Linked DNA regions of Homo sapiens: region 1 is linked to region 2. The links are contacts of gene promoters, found by promoter capture Hi-C in human tissues and cell types (Jung and others, 2019). All regions are on one chromosome and are shown on one strand. Each heading gives the region's core, a stretch centred on a gene start or on the middle of the fragment in contact. The rest is flanking DNA. Distances are from core to core; before and after follow the strand shown. Region 1 overlaps PID1 (phosphotyrosine interaction domain containing 1). Region 2 holds the start of DNER (delta/notch like EGF repeat containing).

The links. The method cuts DNA at HindIII sites, captures the fragments that hold promoters and counts their contacts. A contact is called where the count stands out against the background at its distance.
Region 1: a contact is called between a fragment that was not itself captured here and the fragment with the promoter of DNER in region 2, in 1 of the 25 tissues and cell types used here (dorsolateral prefrontal cortex).

What each region holds. Positions count from the first base shown.
Region 1 is chr2:229,261,337-229,267,777 of GRCh38, forward strand. All of the region lies in intron 1 of PID1 (phosphotyrosine interaction domain containing 1), which reads right to left. Among named protein-coding and RNA genes, the nearest start is that of PID1, 6.7 kb to the right of the region's middle. The HindIII fragment of the contact is 6,246 bases long and covers 1,303-6,441 here.
Region 2 is chr2:229,712,452-229,718,209 of GRCh38, forward strand. DNER (delta/notch like EGF repeat containing) reads right to left here and starts at 2,104. Exons shown (of 13, transcript NM_139072.4): 1 at 1,697-2,104. The coding sequence starts at 1,972. RefSeq lists silencers at 1,935-2,044, 2,115-2,174 and enhancers at 2,012-2,786, 2,787-3,560. The HindIII fragment of the contact is 6,115 bases long and covers 733-5,758 here.

The DNA.
Region 1 (6,441 bases), core at 3,176-5,675, 450 kb before region 2:
CCAAAAGCAAAATAGCTACCACCAGGACCAGGCCCCATAGCCTCCAGCTCACTTACTAGGAAACAACCTCAGAAGACTTGGAAAGGAAACAGCAGTTGCCACTGCCCACATTACAGGTGGCTTGTACAGCAGGATTCCGCTCTCACCTGAGGAAAAGTAGGCCCATTCCTGACGTGAAACCATCAAAGCATGCAGTGGGTGAATCTGTGAATTTATTCTCAGACCCACAACTATAAAGCAACTCTGAGGAAAGGTTTGTCATGAAAGGATTAGGATGGATCTAACAATTATGCAGCTCCTTTCCCCTGGTAACTGTCCATTCCCCTCCTGCTCCCATGGACACAGGGGATATTCCTTCTAGAGAAGAGAATGAAAAGCAAAACAGCATTTTAAGACCAGAATGACTCTTCACTCTCAGAAAGAGACACTGACAGAGCAGTTCTGCAGTTGGACAGGCTCCCTGCCTTCGTCTCAGAGGGACTGGAAACATTTGTGCCTTCCTGGCTGTATCAAAAAAAGACAAGCTTGCCCAAGAAAATAAGTATTATGACATGGCTGACTTTTTTTTTTTTTGTCTTCAAAGTGAGTTCCAGAATAAGAACAGGCTCTTCACTAAAATAATTTATACAGTTATCAAGTAAAAAACAAAACAAAACACCAAACCAGGTACAAATAATCAACCTGACATACCATGAGGCTCACCTGGAGGTCAATTTAAATATACTTCTTTGTCAGCTTACAGGTTTTCCTAGTCAGGAAGAGGCAAATCACAGAGGCTGCTACCCAGAGAGCCTACAGGGACTCTGACAACCTAGTTTGTTTTGAGGATAAAATCCTTAATACTAGTCTTCCCTTGGTCTCAGCCTGTCTGGAAAAGTTTCACTGAGGTCCACCTCAAAGTAACTGTGTTTCACATTCCAGCCCATAAGTTTCATCTCCAAAGCGAACCATCTTCAGGCCTGAAGCTCATGTACCATATTTTCCAGAGGACCTTCCCTGAGCAACACAGCACATGTTACACTCAAGGTTTGCTGCCTTTTCCTAGGATGTTGTCCACCAGAAGGAAATAAAGGAGAAAGAAGCAATAGCTTAGTTGTTTGCTGTTTTCATTTTTTTTTTAATCCACAGTAGATAAACTCACACTCGGTATTAAAAAAAGGATTCCTTATAGACACATGCATTGTGTCGCAGTATGTGAAAGTTGGGGATACCTACATCACAGAAGTAGAGTGACCAAACATAGTCAAGAGGCTATATGGTTTCACTGGTGTAGTAGCTACCTAGGGCTGTTGTAACAAATAACCATAAACTGGGTAGCTTAAAACAACAGAAATTTAATCTCTCACCATTTCGGAGGCTGGAAGTCCAAAATGTAAAGGTTGGCAGGGCCACACACCATCCAAAAGCTCTGGAGAAGAACATGTCCTCGACTCTTCTAACATCAGGTGGTTGCCAGCAATCCTTGGCATTCCTTGGCTTATGATGCCATAACTCCGGTTTCTGCCTTGATCTTCACAATGGCCTTCTCTGTGCCGCTTCTGTGTCTGCAAATCTCTCCTTATAAGGACATTAGTCATTGGCTCTAGGGTTCACCCTAATTCAATATGACCTCATCTTAACTTGCTTACATCTGCACAAACCTTATTTCCAAATAAAGCTACATTCACAGGTACCAGGGGTTAAGACTTCAACACATCTTTTAGGGGAACACAATTCAACCTTCAACAATGAATAACATATGGAGGCTTGGGTTTGAATCTGAATTTTGGTCCCTTAGTAGCTGTGTTGGTTAGGAATGTCAAAGATACATGTAACAGAAGTCCCAATTCACATATGGGCATAAACAAATGAAAGGGGGTCACATTTTTCTCATATAACTTTTGTTAGGAGGTAGGTTCAGGTGCTGCTTACTGATCCAAGTCCTTCCATCTTATCATGCTAGCCTTCTTAGTGGACTGGTTTTAAGGCTTGTCATGTATTGCTGCAGAATCACAATATGGCTGCTGCAATGCTAGACATCACATCTATGCTCAGGACAGCAAGAAGACAGAAAAGGAGGAAAAGGCTATTTCCCCAAGAAGCTTTATTTGTTATTCATGAAGGTAAAGTATCTTTAGTAGATATCCTCTCATATCCCAATGGTTAAAAACTGGTCTCTGACAATCCTTGGACCAGTATGAGATTATTATCATGGCTGGGCTAGAACACCCACCCTCAGGCCAAGGTATGACCATCTGCTGCCTGAACAAGCTGGGGCTTCATCTGCAGAGAAAAAGGTGAGATGGAAGATGTGTAGTTAATGAACTCAAGCAAAAGTTATCTGTAGTCTCTGGAGAATTGTTACATCATCCAGAAAAATGAGACAACAAAATCTCTGTCCCTTAGAATTTTCTCAAGGATTAAATATGCTTTTCATATAAAACAAAATGTCTGCTCCATGACACAAGAGGCACAGTGCTTAGGAGTGCAGACCCTACAACCAGTCTGCTGGCTATGAACCCCAGCTCTACTGCCAAAGGCTGTTGGGAGGACAGGTCAGTGCTGGGAACACAGTAAATACTAAGAAAAAGGTGGCTGCTATTGTTATTATTACTGACACTACTACTAAATAAGCCTGCAATGAATGGTAGCTGACATTTCTTGATTTTCTCCATACTTGGAAATGAGTATGGCTGGAAAAGTAAAAATCACCAATAAAACCCAATTAAATGAGAGTCTGCTAGCAGCACTGCTGGAGTGGAAGGAAATGTTGCTTCTGGGACCCTGACCACAGCACCCCTTCTCTGTGCCCTGTTTGAGAATACTTGCCACGCTATATAACCTTCTAGCTGTGGATAGTTGGGAGCAAACATGCATTTGATGGCTTCTAGAACGGCTTCACTTATCTAAAATTTCTTTTGGAGGAGTGGACTCTCAACTCAGTAGTATACATGAAATTTCCCAATAGTCAACTTCAGCACGACTTCCCTTACTACATTTATAACATGAGAGAACTAACACTTCATCCTGACCTGGAGACCACCGCCTGGCAGAAACTAAAGGAGATATAAGAGGTATGTCAACTCAGACCATTTTCAGGATAGTCACACCCAGGCCTCTCTAAAACAGGGACCCAAGTGATCAAGGGCCACAAGGTATGTGGCCCCCAAGTCCCAGCCCAGCTCACCCATACCCTAACACCCACTATCATATATGAACCTCCATCATCTTCACCCCCAACTGTAAAGACAATTGCATTCTGTGCGTCGCACTTTCCTATACATTGAGAATAAAAGGAGCTTCCCCAAGTGAGGAGACAGAGACAAGTGGACAGTGAGCAGGTCATTAACATACTGGTTCTGGCTTATAAAGCTGAGCTAGCTAGGGATCTTCTTCATATGAACAGAAACACTGAAAGTTACAATCATACTAGGAAATATATATTAAGTCCAACTTTGAACAATAAGGAATAGGACCGTGAGTCCTCTAAGTTTACAACTATGCCCTTCTTCTCACCCTTCACCCACACCCAGCATAGTACTTGGGACGTAGTAGATGGACAAGAAAGATGGACAGAAGAGAAGACAGGAGCTTAGATCTAAACTCAACACTCCATTCCTACAGTGACCAACCATAACAACATTAAGAAGTGCTTCTGTTTATTGAGCACCTACTATACGCTACATACCAAAATCTCTGCAAAGCACATCTCTCTATTTTACAGATAGGGAAAGCAAAGCTCAGAGAAGTTACAAAACTGAAACATTGCTAGTAAGCGATTGTGTCAAAATTATTTATAAAGAGACAGATATGCTTTTTTTTCGTTATTTTTTTTTTACCCAAATGATTTCTTATTCAGGAAACAACCTGGCTAAGAAGGCCATTACTGGAGCCTCCCTTATCAAAGTAAGAACTCGGTTGAAACATAAGAGGGCAGAGGAATCCTGGGCCATCAGGCATGGGAAAGAAGACCTCAGCCAGATTATTGATCCACGTGGCATCAGCATTAAGTGGAAGAGCATGTCAAGATGCTGGAAGCATTGAAATATGCCAGTCACAAAACAAGTCTGTGTCTTTTCCCTGACACCTTCCTTTTGCAGTCTTTGGCCTCAAGGGTTGGACCTGGTGAATACACTGATGCTTTATCACTGATTAGCAGCTAAATAGGGATCACAACTTTTTTTTTAAGTGAACACAAAATGACAGTAGACTAATTCCACTAGACTTTAAGGAGGTCTTTGGACAAACGACTCAACTATTTCTTCTTGCTCTACTTATATAAAGCCTCTGTTTAAATTTGTGTCCACAGGGCTGAAAGAAGCACACTGCAGTCATTGAGTGTTCTGGACTAGTTTTATTTCCTGACCACTAACAAGTCCCTGAACTGCTGCTATTCACAGAATAAAATACCTTGTAGAAGGCAGCCTGATCTCCAGTACCCTTGAAGCTGTAAGGCTGATTCTCCCAGAGTCTCCTCCAAGGCTAATTTTCATGGTAGAATGGGGTCAGTGTGGAGGGGTATTGGTATGGGAGGGACCTAATCTGGAACATCAAACAAAATGCAAAAGTTGCCTAACACTCCAAGATAACTCAGTACAGTCAACACGAAACAGCCATTAGGCCATGGTTAAGCAAGGGGCACAGAGTTTGTTCCCAGGCTAGGATTTTGCAAATCGCTTGAAAGAGATTTGCTGACAAACTTGGAGAAAGACTCAATGATGTAAGATAGCATTTTATTCCTGAGGGAGACTAAGGCCCCGGATTAATGACAACTCCTAGTTTTCTTTATGAACAATAGGGCCCGATGTTTTGTGCTTACTCAACTACAATTGATGAAAACAACAACAAAATCTAGAATGGGTTTAGTGAGAAACCTGTGCCTCTGTAATAATAGCTGTTGCTTTTTTCTAAGCAACCGCTCTGAAAATCTCCAACCTCCTCCCTCCTTCTCCCCATTTTTTTTTTGTCTAAACTTGGAATGAATGTGTACACAATCCACCCTAATCACCGGCTTTCAAGGTCTCTAGTTTGGATAAATGCTATGTGCTTCAGCTGAAAAGCTCTTCAATGGCACTTGTGAATTTTAACTTCAATAGGAGACAGCAGCTTATGTGCCACCAAAGATTTGAGCCACCAAAAACAGAGTAGCCTTTGGTCAACCCACTGCTTCAGCAAGAAATAGGACAGCAGCCTCTCTGAGCCCACAAAACAGTCATTGCTCTAACTGTATTTATTAATAACAACAGCACCAACATGTACATTGCACTGTGCCTGTCTTATCCTTCTGCACTATGGTGAAGTGCTTAAGAAGTAAGGATTGGAACCAAACTGTCTGGTTCAAACTCCAGCTCAGTTCATTTCTAGCTGCTCAACGCTGGCCAAATCACTTCGACTCTCTGGCCTTCAGTTTCTCTCTAAAATGCGGATAAAAGTGGTTACAGGATGCAAATGAGCCAGATAGTTAAAATAAAGCTCCTCGGCACAGTGCCACACACAGTGCCTGCACCACAAAAGCAGGTTACTAGTATCTTCCCATTCTTAATCCTTGCTCCTTTTGTCAATTTGGTCAGCCTGGAAAAGTATCAGATTTGCCGGTTTTCACCCTGCCTGATGGGCCAGGGCTAATGGTCTCCAGTTGACGTTTTAGAGGGTTCTCCAGTCTCACTTCTCAGGGGAAAAGTGAAAGTGGCATCATCATAGAGAAGAAAAATCTAGAACGATCCACACTCCAAGTCAAGACAACATCTACCAGATAGGACAAGGCAGAGAAAGGGTGAGATAATCCTCAGAGGAGGACTTTGGCTCCTAAAATCCCCAAATAGTATTTAGCTGGAAACTTCAACCACTTCATCAACCAAAAGTTTCAGAAGAAACCAAAAGAAAGCTTTTTCAGGATCTGGGGTCCTCCCTACTCTTCACTGTGTTTCTCCCTCTTGTGGAAGTGCTAGTACACAGACATTGGCCACAACGAGGATGAAAAAGGAAGTAATGGATGGAACAGAAAAAATTGCCCAGGCTGCAAAACTCAAATCCAGCTTTGTGAATAAAAAGCTGTTTTTTCTGAATCTGCCATGGAGAAATGGTAATCTCAGTGAAGACAGCTAGATGATTATATTGGAACCTTTATAGAATGCCTCATGAGAAGATGGTTACATGTAAACTTCACAATTAGAATCTGCTAGAACTCATACGCCTATCACATTCCACTCTATCCTAGTAATAACTACACCAAAGACCTTTAAGGATGTGTTGACCTCCTTCGTTTCTAAGTCAGTCTTGATTCATCTTTCTCCTCCTATCAAGGCCTCCAGAAAATGCATCTGGTAGCTCAGTGAAGACATTTGCTCTGAGAAAATACTTGTTCCTATGGATGGGACACAGTCTTGCATGGATGGGTTTGTTACTTCTGAGGGATCCACCCAGTACAATCATCAAGTCAATCCAGAAACTCATACAAATTTT
Region 2 (5,758 bases), core at 854-3,353:
GGCACTCTAACCTACCTTCTCCCATCCATTCCCACTAAACCCTAGGTCCAAATCAACTATTTCTTTGAAGGATAAAATTCAGACGTGTGAATATAACAGCAGTTTGATGGACACACTCAGACAATTCATTTCTTCAGGAAAAGTCATATAAATCATCAATCCACAGGGAAAATTAGCGTGAGTGCATTCCTTGGTTTTTGATTTGCAGTTATTTTGACTTTTGCAAAAGCAAGATTTTGTTCTAATGGTTAGAATGGCTCCAACAGGCATTTCCCCCAAGAAGCTATCATGTCCCAAATCTACTCCTGAGGCTCACATCACACAAATTCTTCCTCCTCCTCATCACCTCCCTTCAAGTAACTAAAGCTTATTGTAACCAGTAAACAAAGAGGAAGAGCACAGTGTTGAAAAGATAGATTCAGTTTGCTAATTTGCTATTAAATGAAATAAAAAGATTCTAGATAAATGCAAAAAAATCTGGCTGTCAAGGTCAAGTTTCTCAATCCCATTTACCTCTAAAAAATGTAAAACCTGTCATAATGAAAGGGCAGCCTTTTTCCCCATTGAAAGAACCTATTTGAGCATTCTCAAAGTAACTCTCCAATCATTGTTATCAAATTTATATGAAACAAACTCCTCCACCCTAAATGTAAGGAAGATAGTATCTGATCCCAAATATCGTCCATATTCATGTGGTTTAATGTAATCATTTCAGATAACTTCATTATTTGCCCTACCCTGCAATACAGGTTTGGGGATTTTCTACCCGTACACACAGTCCTACCAAATTGCCTACTGGAAATGTTGATGTTAATAGGTTTCACAGAGCTTTAACGGACTTGTAAAAGCCCCAGATATTATTTTCTGCCAAATTCTCCTGAAAACCCCAAATTCACGGGCGGCTGCTGGCTACATCCCATCGTCCCATCCCTCGCACCGCCCCCACGCTTTCTGGCGGCTTCCCGGTGCCCTGCTCACGCCCCGGCTGCCAGCCCCAAGCGTGCGCCCCGTGGAGCGTCCGGCAGGAAGGGCGGCCCTGCCAGCGCCACGTACAATGCCCCCTCGAATGCCTCCGACTGTTCCAACACTGCTCCTAAGCTTAGAGAGGGCTGGTCGCAGGCCGAGGGGAGGCAGCTGCCCTCCTCGTCCTCTGGCTGCTTTGTCACAGCCCTCAAGGGCGTAGGAAGAGAAGGAGAAAGTGCCCCACCACCTGGCACGGGGCCCACCATCACCTGCCTCCCACACCGCACACCCTTTACACACACAGGGTCCAGCCGGACGTGGAGCGTGGACCACCTGGACATTGAACACCTCGCCGGGGACGCTCGGAGCCGGCTCCTCCGCGCTGCCAAGGCGGGCACCGCTCAAGTGGTTCTTGGCTCGGCCCGGCCTGGAGGGGCGCGCCACTCAGTGGCCAACCGGAGCGTCTAGAGCCCCGCGCGAGAAGTGCCGAGCCCCGGAGCGGCACACCCCGAGAGCCCGGCTGGCCCCGCCCGGGAACCAGGGCGGGTAAGGGAATCAGGGTCGGCCCGGGGGTCCGCGTCCACGCGGGCCAAGAGACTGGATCCATCTTCTTCCCAAAGTGGGAAAGCCTGTGTCAGGCGTGCCCATTGTCGGGCAGCAGCAGCAGGGCCGGCGGGAAGAGGCTGCTGGTCCCGGACCAGCGCCCCGCACCGCGCCCGCCGCTTCCACTCACCTGGCAGTTGGCGCCGGAGATCCCGGCGGGGCAGGTGCAGCTGTAGCCAGGCTCGCCGGCGGGGGCCGGGTGCTGCGGGTCCGGCTCAGGGCGCGAGGTGCACACACCCCCATTCCGGCAGGGCTGCGCGGCGCACGGCCCGGGCGCAGACAGGGGCGCGGCGGGCACCGGGTTGGCCAGGGAGCTGCCTCGGGGCCCCGCTCCGAGCAGCAGCAGCAGCAGGGCCAGCGCGGGCAGCAGCTGCGCACCGGGCGCCTGGGCGCGGCGGGGCTGCATGGCCGGCCGGGAGGGCGCGGGAGCCGGAGCCAGGACGCAGTGACGGCGGCGGCGGTGGCAGTGGCGACGAGAGCTGCGAGAGCGACGGTGGCGGCTAGGGCTGCTCCGCCGGGCCGGGCGCCTCCTGCAGCTGCGGGATCCGCGGTTCCCCGGGCAACGGCGGGCGGGGCCTGCGGGGCGGGGCGGGGCGGGGCGAGCGGGGGGCGGGGCGCCTGGCGGCCCCGGCTCTGGAGCATCGGGGAGTGGGGCCTCTTTCCCCGCAGGGAGTTGGGATGGGGGTTGCAGGAAGACGATGCGGGACCCCATCCCCCAGGAGTGGGTCGAAGTCACGGGTGTGTCCAGAAGCAGCCCTGGTACAGGGAGCCAGGCGACGCTGGGGCAGGAAAGGGGCTGGAGAGGTCCACGAGTGAGGGAAGCGGGGCTTTGAGGGGCTTCCAGAGCCGGGAGCACCGAGTGCGCCCCAAGGCCCGGGCAGGGCAGGGCGCGGGAGGCGGCAGGGCGCCTCAAGGGAGGGGCGGCGCGCTCGCAGCAGCCACCTTTGGCCTCTTGGCGCAGAATCTGCGAGACCGCCGCGGGGCCCGGCCTTGCCTCATCCCCCGGGACTGCTCCCCTTCCCACAGCGCTTCTCCCGGCACCCCAAGCCCTCCCGCCCGGCCACGGAACCCTGCGCCCGACGCTTGCTCAGCAGCCGGGTTCGCCTGGAAGTGACCTCGCCTCCGCCAGGCGGACCCGGGGCCCTTGTCCTTGGTGCTGACCCAGCTGTCTCATTCTCGCCGGCCCTTTCCAGAGCGCGGGGCCTTGCCGCACCACTAAGGAACGTCTGGCCGCGCCGTGTGAGGCCGGGAAGAGGCCTTGGTGTAAGGCTGTCCACCCCTGTCGTTGAACCTAGGGGGAAACTGAGGCCCAGAAAGTCTGGATTCGAATCCAGTGGGTCAATTGACTCCCAGCCCAGAACGCCCGAAAGAACAGTTCAAAAGCCCAGGTTGGCAGAGGCGCTGCTAGCGGCAGGAATCGCAACAGGGGACTCTGCATAAAAGGAGCATTCGCTGTGACCTACTTCGGAGGGGATGGGGGGGGCGGGCTCTTCTACACGTCCTGGCTGGGCTGGCTGGTGCTGCGACCGCCAAGGAGGCTGCACTCCGCTGAATAAAGCGCATCCAGCCTTGTCTCCTCCACCTGACCTTTCACAATCTCTATTACCTGTGGGTTCCCAGGTACCTGTTACCTTCTTTTTAAGGTGGCCAAATGAAAAAAGAAAATGTGATTCCCCTGGATTGACAGTCTGGGCCAATTTTTTTTTTAGTAAACACAAAAATAGCTTGTTTTGTTTTTTAAAAAAATTAAAGTAAGGACTCCATGTGAACTTCTGCTGTAGGTGTCACAGACGCCAGGGATTGCTAAAAGTCCTCCAGTGGAAACAGAAGGCAAACTGCACGGCTTCTCCCTGTCCTGTTCAAACGCAGAAGCAAATGTCACACTTTTCTGCTTCAGGAGATACCTAAAATTCATGTGGCCATTGCAGGAAATCACTGAACCCCAGACAGATCTGCAAGCGGAGAATTCAGACCTCCAAGTGGATAGAGTTATTACATTTTTCCTCACACCTGCTGTCTTTCAATCTAAGACCTCTTCCTCTTGAAAATTCTTAATTTTGTGCCACGCCAGCACCCTCTGCTGGTACTAGTGTCGTCATTCAGGTGGTTTCTGTGCCCCTGGAGTTGCGTTCTTTCCTGAAACTAACTTCTCTTACCTTAAATCCTGGACTAGTGGATAGTGCTCTTCATTGCCTTCCATCAAGACACACACACAAATGAAGCAAGATGAAGTGTAAAAAGGTTGTGAGTTAATTAAAATCACATTTCAGTTTATTGTACTTTTGCCTGAGCAACCCCTTTGTTTGTGTATTTCATATTATTTTGAAATATAGGATAATTAAAAGTGGTTTTATTTTCTGGATGCTGGTTACTGCATGTTTCAGATAATTTTCCTTGCTAAAAGTATTCTCTTAGTCTTTAATCTTTAAAATGCATATTATGGCAGAGACAATACAAGATCCTTTCATTTTTTCCAGGCTAAAAAGGAAAACTATAATCTTCCAGCACCTTAGCTTATAGGCAGAGCAACATGATTAATGCTGGGGAAAAAGCATATTGATTTGCATGTCCTGGTCCCAAAACATCCATGTACTAAGTGCCATGAAAGTGTTAACTATTATTACTGTTACCACGCTCAGAGAAATGGGTCTTTTCTGTAGATTCCGAAAGCTGATCTGGTACTTTACTGACAGCTTTTCAACCATCTGCAAGATCCCCCAAATACTCAACTAAAAAGTCCAACCAATGTATTACCCTGTCACATTAGCAAAAGTGATTAAAATAATATTGCCTCTATGTTTAAATGAAAGCTAAAAATCCAGGCTTTTATTTTATATTATTCCCAACTTACAGAATATCAAATCTTCATCCTGACCCACCTCATTTCCTTTTTTGATAGAGTCCTTATATTGACAAGTCAAAGGCCAAATATACCAATAATGTATCTTGATTTTAGCAAAAAAAAAAAAAGTGATAACATTTCTCATGATCACCTTATGGAGAAAATTCAGCTAAGTGGACTCAAAACTGTTTAACAACATACCAATCGGGGGGTCACTATCAAGCTACAAGAAGTTTTTAGGGAAATAACCATGGAGTTGAAATTTTTGGCAGCTGATAAAATTCATACCAGAATCAACATGTAAATTTATCTTAATCAGTAAAAATGCTGAGCTAAAATAAATGAAATGGAATATGAGGTGAATGATAGTACATTCGATCTTACTGCTACTTCTTCGTAAGACTTTCTCTTCCTGCCCTCCTTAAAGTTAGATGTGGTCATATTATTGGCCATGGCCATAAAATGTGCAGGGAATAGTATGCCCCACTTCCAGATGGAAACTTTTAAAATCCTGCCCATGTCCCACTGTGTTCTCCTCTCCTTAGCGTGACAACTGGCAAGATTCCAAGAGGTGCAATGGGGGCTCCTCCAGCTTGTGTCTCTGAGAGAGGACAATGTGAAGCAATGGGAACCTGCAATGGGCATATGACATAAGAAATAAACCACTATAGTTTTAAACCACTGAGTCTCAACGATGTAAGATAACTCGAGGCCACACACTAGTAAATGGCAGAGCAGGACTGATTGTTCCCAATGAGCCAGGCAGCACGACTAGTGATCTCACATGTACTATTTCTGCCAGGTAGAAGGCTGGATCCCATTAGAAATTCTAAGGCTTCTGGATTTGGTGGAAAGGAAGAATTTCAAAACAATTTACAGGACTCATTTCTCTTCACAGATCTAGTTTAGAGTTACACCTCAATTGCATTATACCCATAGGTTATTATAAAAATGTTACAAACTAATGCAAATATAATTGTCTTTATTTTTTGCATTTTGTCACAAATGGAGAAAATCAACTTTCCAGGCCAGCAGGTTCACAGGTAGCCAATTGGGAACCACTGGCCTCAATGAGAACACCACTCCTGATGAGGTTTTCATACTCTGTCCACCACGGCATCCTGTGAGAATGCTAGCCTGGGTGCACCGTGTCATCATTCACAGACTTAGAAACTTATATTTAGAAGAAATTGCAAAGGTTACCAAGCTTGATCTCCCAGGATTTGAACTAAGACCCAAACTAAATTATTTATCATAAGATGATAAATCCCCTCCAACTTACCTGGGATTTAGCACCCACCTTCTTTCCAAAGGAATCTAAGTTTTCTGCAGCCATCAGCAGATGGTCTC